Regions from separate parts of the Homo sapiens genome. Here region 1 is linked to region 2. Evidence: promoter capture Hi-C in 16 types of primary human blood cells and fetal thymus (Javierre and others, 2016). All regions are on one chromosome and are shown on one strand. The core of a region is centred on a gene start or on the middle of the fragment in contact, and the rest is flanking DNA. Distances in the headings are between cores, read along the strand shown. Region 1 has its middle 28 kb from the start of LINC01151. Region 2 holds the start of ZHX1 (zinc fingers and homeoboxes 1).

What was found. Contacts are between HindIII fragments. The CHiCAGO score rates a contact against its expected background, and 5 or more counts as called.
Region 1: a contact is called between a fragment that was not itself captured here and the fragment with the promoter of ZHX1 in region 2, in 1 of 17 cell types (total B cells). The highest score is 5.9, in total B cells.

Annotation. Positions count from the first base shown.
Region 1 is chr8:122,663,666-122,668,965 of GRCh38, forward strand. No RefSeq gene overlaps it. Among named protein-coding and RNA genes, the nearest start is that of LINC01151, 28 kb to the right of the region's middle. The HindIII fragment of the contact is 3,614 bases long and covers 1,564-5,177 here.
Region 2 is chr8:123,272,416-123,276,993 of GRCh38, forward strand. It overlaps ZHX1 (zinc fingers and homeoboxes 1), which reads right to left and starts at 1,871. Exons shown (of 4, transcript NM_007222.5): 1 at 1,802-1,871. ZHX1-C8orf76 (ZHX1-C8orf76 readthrough) reads right to left here and starts at 1,871. Exons shown (of 6, transcript NM_001204180.2): 1 at 1,802-1,871. RefSeq lists silencers at 1,128-1,495, 1,532-1,731, 1,932-2,621 and an enhancer at 3,102-3,221. The HindIII fragment of the contact is 9,533 bases long and covers 258-4,578 here.

The DNA.
Region 1 (5,300 bases), core at 2,121-4,620, 610 kb before region 2:
AGTGAGGCAGAAGCAGAGTCAGGAAGACCTCTCAGAGGAGGCACCACTGAGGAGAATTTTTACATATAAGCCGGAGTTAGAGAGAGGTGTATGAAGGAAGGGGATTTTATTTGGAGATAGTAGATATGTAAAGACACAAAGCTGGAATGAATTATGGCAAGAGGTTTATTTGATTACAGTGGAAACTTCAAGGAAGGGAGCACTGAGAAAAGAGGCTTGGAGAAGCTGGCAGGGACTAGATAATCATAGGCCTTGAATGCCAAGCCAAAGAATTTGGATGCTAGTCTGAAAATATTTGGAGCCACAAAGGTTTATTTTGGGTAGATAGTTTCCAACAATGGTCACCAGTGATTCCTTCCCTCCCTGTACACATATGATGCTCTACCTATCAAGACGTAGGATCCCTTTCCATTCCCCTTGGACCTTGCCTAGCCTTGTGACTTGCCTTGTCCTGTACAGTATGACAGAAATGACACAGTGCCATTTCTGGAGTGAAACTTGAAGATATCAGGCAGCTTGCTATAAAGCAGCTCAGATTCCTGAATGATGTGATACCATGTTGGGAGAAATGCCATGTAAAGGAGAAGTGAGGTGTGAGACATGTGTGTGAGGTCTTCCTGAACCTTTCAGCCCAGCCAAGCTGCCAGATGGATACAGCTGGATGAGTGACTCCTAGCGTATACCAAGCAGAACAGAAGAACTGCCCAGCTGAGACCTGCCTGCATTCTTGACCCACTGAATCATAAGCAATGGTGAATCATTGTTGCTTTCTGGATGATTTGTTATATAGTAGCAATAGACAACTGAAACACATTTCATTTTATCTTCAAAATAGTACAAGGATATAGTATTCCCTCCATTTAGATATGATGAAAATGAGGCTCAGCAAATCACAGAGCAATAAAGGATTCTAAGAGGCATTCAAGATTGAACTCAACCTTTACCAACTGTAGAACCCATGCTCTTTTCACTAGACATAGGGAATAAGCCTAGTATTTAGCTAAAATTTTGGATACAGTCAGCCTCTATTCTGATTGATCTGGAGTTCCTTCCAATTACTCAAGCCCTTTTCTTTACTTGTTATTAAATATTTGGAATACTGCGATTGCCTGGGAGCACAGGATTATGAGACAAGAACCATAACCATCTTTGAAAGATGTTGGAAGTCTTTCCAGTTTATAGAAAATATCCCCCAAGTCTTGTTTTCCTGGCCTTACCAACCTGGCTTATTTTGGATACAATCAGTACCTGAGGGTGAGGCTCAGAAGTGCCATCTGGTCCTCCCATGTCTCCATGGCATATCTCATACACAGCCAGAAATGGCTGTCAGCAGGAATGCCCTACAGGCCAAACAAAAATGCACCCAGTAATAGATGCATGTTTATTTTCTTTTCCATTTCCCACCTTTCTCTCACTTTATTTCAGAGCTTTTGCTGTCTGTTTTACTACTTGGGAAAGCCCCTTGGAGTATCATTCTGAAGTAAAATTACTTCATTTAATCCAATGTATTGCTCTTGGAAAAAGGTTTTATTTCCCGTACTTGAAGCTGGGCAGTAAACAATAAGCTTCTATTTTTCCTAATCCTAATTTCCAACCTTTTCTTGTGTCTTCATAGTTAAGGGAGCTAACAAATTTGTACCATGCCCCATCATTGAAGGAGACTTTGCCTAGAGCCTGGATGGAAAAACAGATATTTCTGTTCAAATTTTACTCAACACACTCCCAGAAGAAAAGGCAGTGAACCAGTTATGCTCAGGTAGTTGCCTTCACGTTTGTAGGGAGTTGTTCTTCCAGGTTGAGTGGTTCCAAGAATGAGGTACAAATTCTTCAGTTCTACAACATTTTCAGTGACTGCATCCTGCACACGAGAACTTTCTATGCAGCTTAGCAAAACAAGGTAGGCATTGACTTTGGAATCAGAAGAACATTCGGGCTCTTCTCAACCCATTTCAATCAGACTTTTACCCCCACCATGTAACAAAGTCACCAATGGCCTGTCAAGGTCACTAGTGCCTGCATCTGACCAAGTCCAACAATGGATTTTAATCCTCATCTTACTTAATAGCAGCAACTGACACTGTTGATCCTTCTTTTCATGAAACACTTTTTTTTTACTGGGTTTCTAGGCAGTCCCACATTCTTTTTTCCCCTCTTCCCAATCTGTCTCTTCCATCTCTCCCTCTCTGGATTCCCCTCTTCCTCCTGACCTATATAGACTGACAGACCCCAGGCTCACTTTCAGCCTTCTTGTTTCCTCTCTCTGCTCTCATTCTCCATGTGATCTCATCCAGTCCATGGCTTCAAAGTCAGTCTACATGCTGAGGACTCCCACATTTTATCTTTAAATCCATTGTTTCCCTTATTAGAAATGTCCAAAATGGAATTCCTAATTTTTCCCCTTAACCCTGCACCTCCCTCAGACTTCTACAACTCAGCAAGTGGTACAAATCCTTCACCAAGGTGTTCAGACCAAAACCCTGGAGTCCGTCTTAACTCTTCCGTTTCTCATACCCCACATTTATTCAAGCAGCAAGTCCTTTTACCACCTCAACTGTTTCCACTCTAGACCAAGCCAGCTTCATTATTTTTTATTGAGACAAGGTCTTACTCTGTCACCCAGGCTAGAGTGCAGTGGTAAGATCACAGCTCACTGCAGCCTTGAGCTCCTGGGTTCAAGTGATGCTCCTGCCTCAGCCCCGCAAGTAGCTGGGACTACAGGTGTATGCCACCATGCCTGGCTAATTTTTTTTTTATTTTTTGTAGAGACAGGGTTTCACCATGTTGCCCAGGCTGGTCTTGAACTCCTAAGCTCAAGTGATCCACCTGCCTTGGCCTCCCAAAGTGCTAAGATTACAGGCATGAGCCACTGCACCCAGCCACTGGCTTCATTTTTGCCTTATTATTGCAATAACCTCCTGTGGTTTCCAATAATTTGCTTCTCCTTCCCCACCCCACTGATACTAGGCTTACACTCATGACTTGCTTTGGTCAGTGAAATGTGATGGAAATGATGTTTGTCACTTCCAGGCAGAAGAGTTCAGAAGCAGAATGTGATTCACTGTGATCTTTTTTTGTCTCTTCCATGAGACCATCAATAGCTCCAGAGGGAGCTGCTTTATCAGCTTGGGTCCTAGAGTGAAGATAATGTGGAACAGACCTGCAAAACATGGAACATTGTTCCTTTGGAATTACTCAGCCCATCCCAATGAATACACCTACCCACTTGGCTTTTTACTTCCATGTCACCGCCCTCCCTAACATCCACCCAGTAAATTCTCGACATAGTATTCAGAGGGATATTTTGCAAGGGTAAATTAGATCATGTCATTTCCCCACTCCAAGTCCTCCAAAGACTTCCACTTAACTTAGAATAAGATCCAGTTTTCTCATCTTGTCTATAAACCCCTTTATGGCTCAGTTCTAGCTCACCACTCTGACCACATCTCTTATTTCCTTCCTCTCTCTCTTTTCTGACATGGAGAAGTCCACACTGGCTTTCTCTCTGTTTCTTGAATATACCAACCTCATTCCAACATCAGGGATCTTGCATTTGCTGAACCCTCTGACTGGGATGTTTGTCCTCCAGATACTTGCATGGCTGACTCCCTCGCTTCCAGCAGACACCTGCTCAAATGTTGCCCATCTGAGAAGATTTCCTGCATATCTGGTTTAAAATAGTCCATTCCCTCTTCCCACCTGGCCACCTGCTACCTCCTTCCTCAGCTTTATTTTACTTAATAGCACCTATCACTACCAATTAATATATTTTACAATTTTTTTTTATTTGTTGTTCGTCTCTCCTTCTAGAACATAAATTTCACAAGGACAGGAACTTTTTCTTACTTACTATTAAAATTCACAGAACTCTTAACACTGCCAGGTACATGGTAGACTTCAAAAAATTATATTTGTTTTGAATGAATGAATGAAGAAATGATGCCTGAGATTTTCACACTTACTGTCTGTGCGAATATGGGCAAATTATTTTAATTTTTGAGTTCAGTTTCCTTGTCTGTGAAATGGAGACAGCAGTCCCTGAATTTTCTACTTTCCTGGGTTATCGTGAGGACCAAAGCAGATTGCGACTGCAAGTATGCCTTCCAAACAACAAAGAACTATGGAAATATTACATAGGATTATTGATACATTAGCCTATTTCAGACACCAGGCAAATTTTTGGCCAAACTCTGAGAGAGAAAACTGTGTCTCCGATGGACTTTACCTCATTTTTCTATTACCATTTCCCCAAAATGTGGTATATGCTTTTCTCCTCTTGAATCCAGGCACTTCCTCTTATTTGTAGAATAGGAAGAGTAATACAAACCTGGGTTATCTCCAAATCTGCCACAGCTGACCTTGGAGAAGTTCCTTAACCTTCTGAGGCTCAGATTCTTTATCCATTAAATAGTGAGTATGAAGAACTGATTTCGTAAAGCTATTATGAGGCTGTAATGAGTCATGCATATGAAGAACTTTGAAGATTGAGTGGGATATAGTAATCTTGTAATAAGTGTTAGTTATTGTTATTCACTTAACTATTGACTGCCTGTGCAAATGATACTTCATACATTTTTGTATGTGAATCAGATGAGGGAAGGTATGCCCATTACTTAGAATGGTGCTGGAAGCCTCACAGGTGCTTAATAAATAATTGCCATTATAAGTAGTAGCGGTGGTGGTGGTCGTGGTAGCAGTAGTTCAGAGCAGTTGTGAATTTCAACAAAATTGTTTTAATGGTCCATGGTCTCTTGATATAATTTTGTTCTTCTCCTTTTCCAGCATTGTGGTGCTAATTAGGAGACTTTTATATAAACCTTTTCCCTAACCATTTCAGCAAGTCACAATTCATTACACCCAAAAGCATCAGTCCAAATTCTAACATAATAAACCCCATGGCTACAGGCCCTACCCCACCCCACCCCCTGAAAAAGAGATCAATGATCTGTGGGTGTTGGTTGCAATGTAAAAGTCAAAACCTGACTACAGTTAAGTTTGTAGGGGCCCTGGCACTGCTACCTGCCTAGGAATTGATGACCTACGGTTTTCAACCTCTCCTAGAAATATGAACTGGGTTCTTGGCATAGAGTCTCCACAAAATCACCAGTGCAGTACTTCCTAAATACAGATATCCCTCATTCTCTTTCTCTAAGTATGAAATGGAATCCAAACTTTGGTCAAGCTTTCAAAAGACATCCTTCTCACTAATTCTTCCCTAGGATCTCTGCTTTAATCTAAGAGAATGATAGGCAGCCATGCCAACTTCCTACATCTATTATCAATTCCGAAAAAGCTGTTCCCAT
Region 2 (4,578 bases), core at 621-3,120:
TTCATGAAAGCCCTTTTTCTTTTATGTCCTGTTACCGCATTATTGTCATTGGCAGCACTCACATTTCTTTTGCTTAAAATCAGGAGTCAGAATTGCTACTTTAGAAATTAAAATAATCGATGGGTATACTAGGGCCAATTTCCCTGTTAAAACCAACTCCTGCTCACCTTCGCTCCCGACATAAAAACAAATGACTTTTTCAGAATAATTTTTCAGAAACGAAGATAATTAATGTAGCACCATATAACACAAATTAAAGCTTTCAGACAAAGACTGAGAAACAATGACCAACACCAGCAAATCTAAAGTGCTCTTATATATGTATACACACAACACACACACACACCCCAAACCAAATATTCACTGTTCCTGGGGGGAGACTGCTTCTTCCTCCCTAACCGTGAACCGCTGTATATTTTCCAATTTTGTGATTTTCCTTTTTCTGCTATCACATTAACCTCCAAGAGAACTGCTTAAGTTACATGGAATCCCAACCTAATCACATCACGACTTCTCTCTCAGCCTTTACATTTTTCTCTCAAATATTAGCTCTTCGCATTTTTTTTTTTTTCTAATAGCTGGGCTGAGTTGACAGAAAAGGGCTGTGGAATTCCTGCTCTGTCCGATATCTTCCCTGTATTCCTCTTTTCTCATCCCTAGTCTCTGTTCTAATTCCCCCGCCTGCTGTCTCTCATTGACGCCTTCCCAGCTGCTGGATCCTTCACTAACCTAAGCTAAGGATATCAAATGGAATCTTTTCCTTCTCAGGGGCTATGCTCTTTCCTTACAGTTACCCACGGAGGAGAGAGGACAGGAAAGGTACTAAAACAAAGAATTGCCAAGTCCCTTTACCTCCAACTTTGGTGTAAATATATAAGGAAAGGGGATCTGCCAGGGCTCTTCTTTCCTGCCCTTAGACCTTGTTCCTCTCACACCTCTCCTTCCCAGCCTTTTATACCCCTTGAGGTATTAGTAGATTGTTCACTGTGGGCCCTAAGGCTTGGAGGATTCCCATGGGTCAGCCCCCACACCCCCACGCCCCTACCATCCTCTTTAATTAACTTCTCCCTAAATCCCAGGGCTTCGTCACAATCGTAATATGGTTCTTAAGGACTCAACTCCCAGTCTTTCCCAAAGTTGGGACATGGCCTGGCCCCGAAACGGGTGCGCATAGCCTTCCTTGAACTGGAGGTAAAGACTTCTCCTGAAGGGTTTGCTGGGGCTCCAACCTCAGTCAGTGCGCTCAGCTCCAGCAAGAGAATCTCTCCTTACTCTCAGGGAGACTGGGTCCCCCACGAGGCAGCCACACGCCCCCGGAGGACAGCGCTCCTGACCTCCTCTAGGACTCCCAACATTACTGGGGTGCTCCCTCCGGCGGCGCCCTCCGCTGGGAATACGCAGTCTTCACTCCTCTCAACAATCCTAAGTTGCTGGGTCCTCACCAAGGCAGGGGGCTGAGATGTTCCCTCCAGAGAGCCCCCCGCCCCCAAGCTCTTTCGGTGGCGGAGACACCCAAAAAGAGCGAGGGAGGCTGTGGGTCTGTCTGTCCCTCTGCGGCGACTACCCAGCCGCGAGGCAGGCCCCGTCCCTCCCCCTCGGACGCCCCACGCCGGGTCCACCCCGCCACCCGCCGCCGCGAGCGGGCTCAGCCCCAGGGGTCTCTGCTGTGAGGCTGCCCTCCTCCCGCCAGGCCCCGCGCTACTCGCCTTTCCCGTGCCGGCCGCGGACTCTGCGCTCCAGTTCCCACCCGCAGCCCAGAGTCTCCGGGCCCGCTGGTCGCGGAGCCGGCTCGCGCCACTACCTGCAGGGGCCGCCGCGCCTCTCAGCGCCACGCCGCCGCCATCTTGCATTTCAAACCGGCTGCACTTTTCAGGGAGTCAACTCTGACCTGTGAACCCTAAACCCGGAACCGCTCGGCGGGCCCGCAAAGGGGCCTCAGCAGCTCGGTGGCCCCGCGGAGTGTGGGGACTCAGGGTGGGGGTGCGAGGAGAGGCGCGCGCCCCAGCGGCCGTCCGGGGGCGGAGGGGGAAGGGAGAGAGCCGGCCAAGGCGGGGCCCTCCCGCGCGCGCGTCCTCCGCGCGCCCCCACCCCGTGCGGCGCCGAGCTCTCCACGCCCAGACCCTGCTACTCCACTGGGGTCCGACCCCGGCCCCTAGTCCGGGGATTGGCGCACCGCGGGAGGTAGGGAGGCGCCCCGCCCCCCTGTCAACAGAAGCCCCGCCCCAGACTGCGGAAGCTCCGCCCCCTGTCAGGAGACGCCCCGCCTTCCCAGGGCTCGAAATGGCCCCGCCCTTTGCCTGCGACCGCTCCGCCCGCTGTGGACTGAAGCCTGGTCTTCTCTCGGGTCAGCACAGAAGGCAGCCCCGCCTTCCTTGCGCTCCGCCTTCCTAATGTCACTGCTGGATCGTGAGAGGTAAGCATGCTGGCTTCTACTGAAACGCCCCTTGTCATCACACGCCCATCCCCTGGGGCGACACGACCCAGGCCCCGCCCCTCGGGGGGCTGCTGCGAGTCCGGCCGGGAGCCCAGCGCCCTGACAGAAGTCGCCGCGCCCCTTGTCAGCGGCAGCTCCACCTCTCCTCGCTTCGGACCCCGCTCCTCCGCGGGCCGCAGCTCCACCCGCTGACACCGAAAGTTCAGTTCAGCTGCACTCAGAACCGCCGGGCAAGGCGGAGCCGCCCTCTGCCCCTCAGCCGCCCTCCTCCCTGCGAACCGCCACTCGCTCTTCCAGAGGCTTCTGTCCGAGTCGAGGGCTTCACATCCCGTCGGCTTTCAGGGAACCAGCCCCGCAGCGGGGCCAGCGAGGGCCAGGGGTTTCGGGAACACTGCCCGGCGTCTCCGCCCCTCCCTACTCACTTTCCCTTTCCCCCGCACCGCGGTCAGAACGTGGAGGAACAGAACCAAAGCGGAGAGCGGCGACTCACCCTCCAGCTGCTCCACACGCCGGGCCTTGGACGCTCGAGCGCTCCTGGGCCCCTTGACGTTCACTCCCCACCCCCATCCCAGTCGCGGACCCTTTGTGCAGAGCTCCGCTGAGCCACAGTAATCCTAAAAGCACAGCAGAGCTCCGCTGAGCCACATTAATCCTAAAAGATGCAATTGCTTCAAGTGGAAGTCTGATTTTTTTTTTTTTTTTGAGACGGAGTCTCGCGTTGTCGCTTAGGCTGAAGTGAAATGGCGCGATCTCTGCTCACTGCAACCTCTGCCTCCCGGGTTCAAGCGATTCTCCTGCCTCAGCCTCCCGAGTAGTTGGGATTACAGGGGCCCGTCACCTAACGCCGGGGTAATTTTTGTATTTTTGGTAGAGACAGGGTTTCGCCATGTTGGCCAGGCTGGTCTTGAACCCCTGAACTCAAGTGATCCGCCAGCCTCGGCCTCCCAAAGTATTGGGATTACAGGAGTGAGCCACCGCGCCTGGCCGTGGAATCTGATCGTTGAAATCAGTGTTCTACAATATTCTTTTTATTTGTAGGTTTCATCCTGGAATCCTAAAACTTGTGTAGGATAAGGCTTAATTTTATAAGCAAAGGTATTCAACCCTGCCACATTCAATGCCCTGTATTTACAACAAAAAATATAACACTGCTTTACTCTTCTGGAGTTAAATTCCTAATGCAAACTATCTCTACAAATAATTTCAAGAAACCAATGTAATGTTCTAATAAAGGTGAAAAAGGAGAAAGTAGTTCATAATAAAATACTGTATGTACTAATATCAAGAAAAATTTTAAAATAACAGAGTTTTCACAATGTAAATACTCTGCCACCAATAGAATGCAAAACAAAAACTGTCCCGGCAAAATTTCAGTATGCCCCTGAGGGGCAGTACTGCCCTCGCTGGGAACCTCTTTAGACCGAGGAAGAGGTCTGGAAATGCTTCAAATAGAGAAATTCATTCTTTTGTCTACACAGTTAATGACAAGTTTTCTTTTGTTGTTGTTGTTGTTGTTGTTTTTGAGACGGAGTCTCGCTCTGTTGCCCAGGCTGGAGTGAAATGGTGCGATTTCGGCTCACTGCAACCTCTGCCTCCTGGGTTCAAGTCATTCTTCTGCCTCAGCCTCTTGAGTAGGTGGGATTACAGGCGCGTGCCACCACACCCGGCTAATTTTTGTATTTTTAGTACAAACGGGGTTTCACCATGTTGGTCAGGCTGGTTGCGAACTCCTAACCTCGTGATCCGCCCTCCTTGGCCTCCCAAAGTTCTGGCATTACAGGTGTGAGCCACCACACCCGGCCGATGACTAGGTTTTGTGTGTGCCAGTATATGCCAGGCACTGTGGGAGATGTACAGCTGAGTTAGTCAACTTTCCTGTCTTCCAGGAACTTACAATCAAGTAGCCAAGCAAAAAACAGGAGCATAAAGATGTGTCAAGTGAAAGATGAGAAGAGACCCCTTTAGGGATGTGGAGCTGTTGACTGTAACTTCACATTTTACCCCCACTTCCTCCCTCACTTTATTCTTCCTTCTCCTCTTCTACTTTAGCACTAGTTTATAGAGTCACCTCCTCCTCCCTATAAGCTGTCTCCCTGGTTCACTGCCCAATGCCAGCCATCCAGAATTCTCCCAGTTTAGGGTCA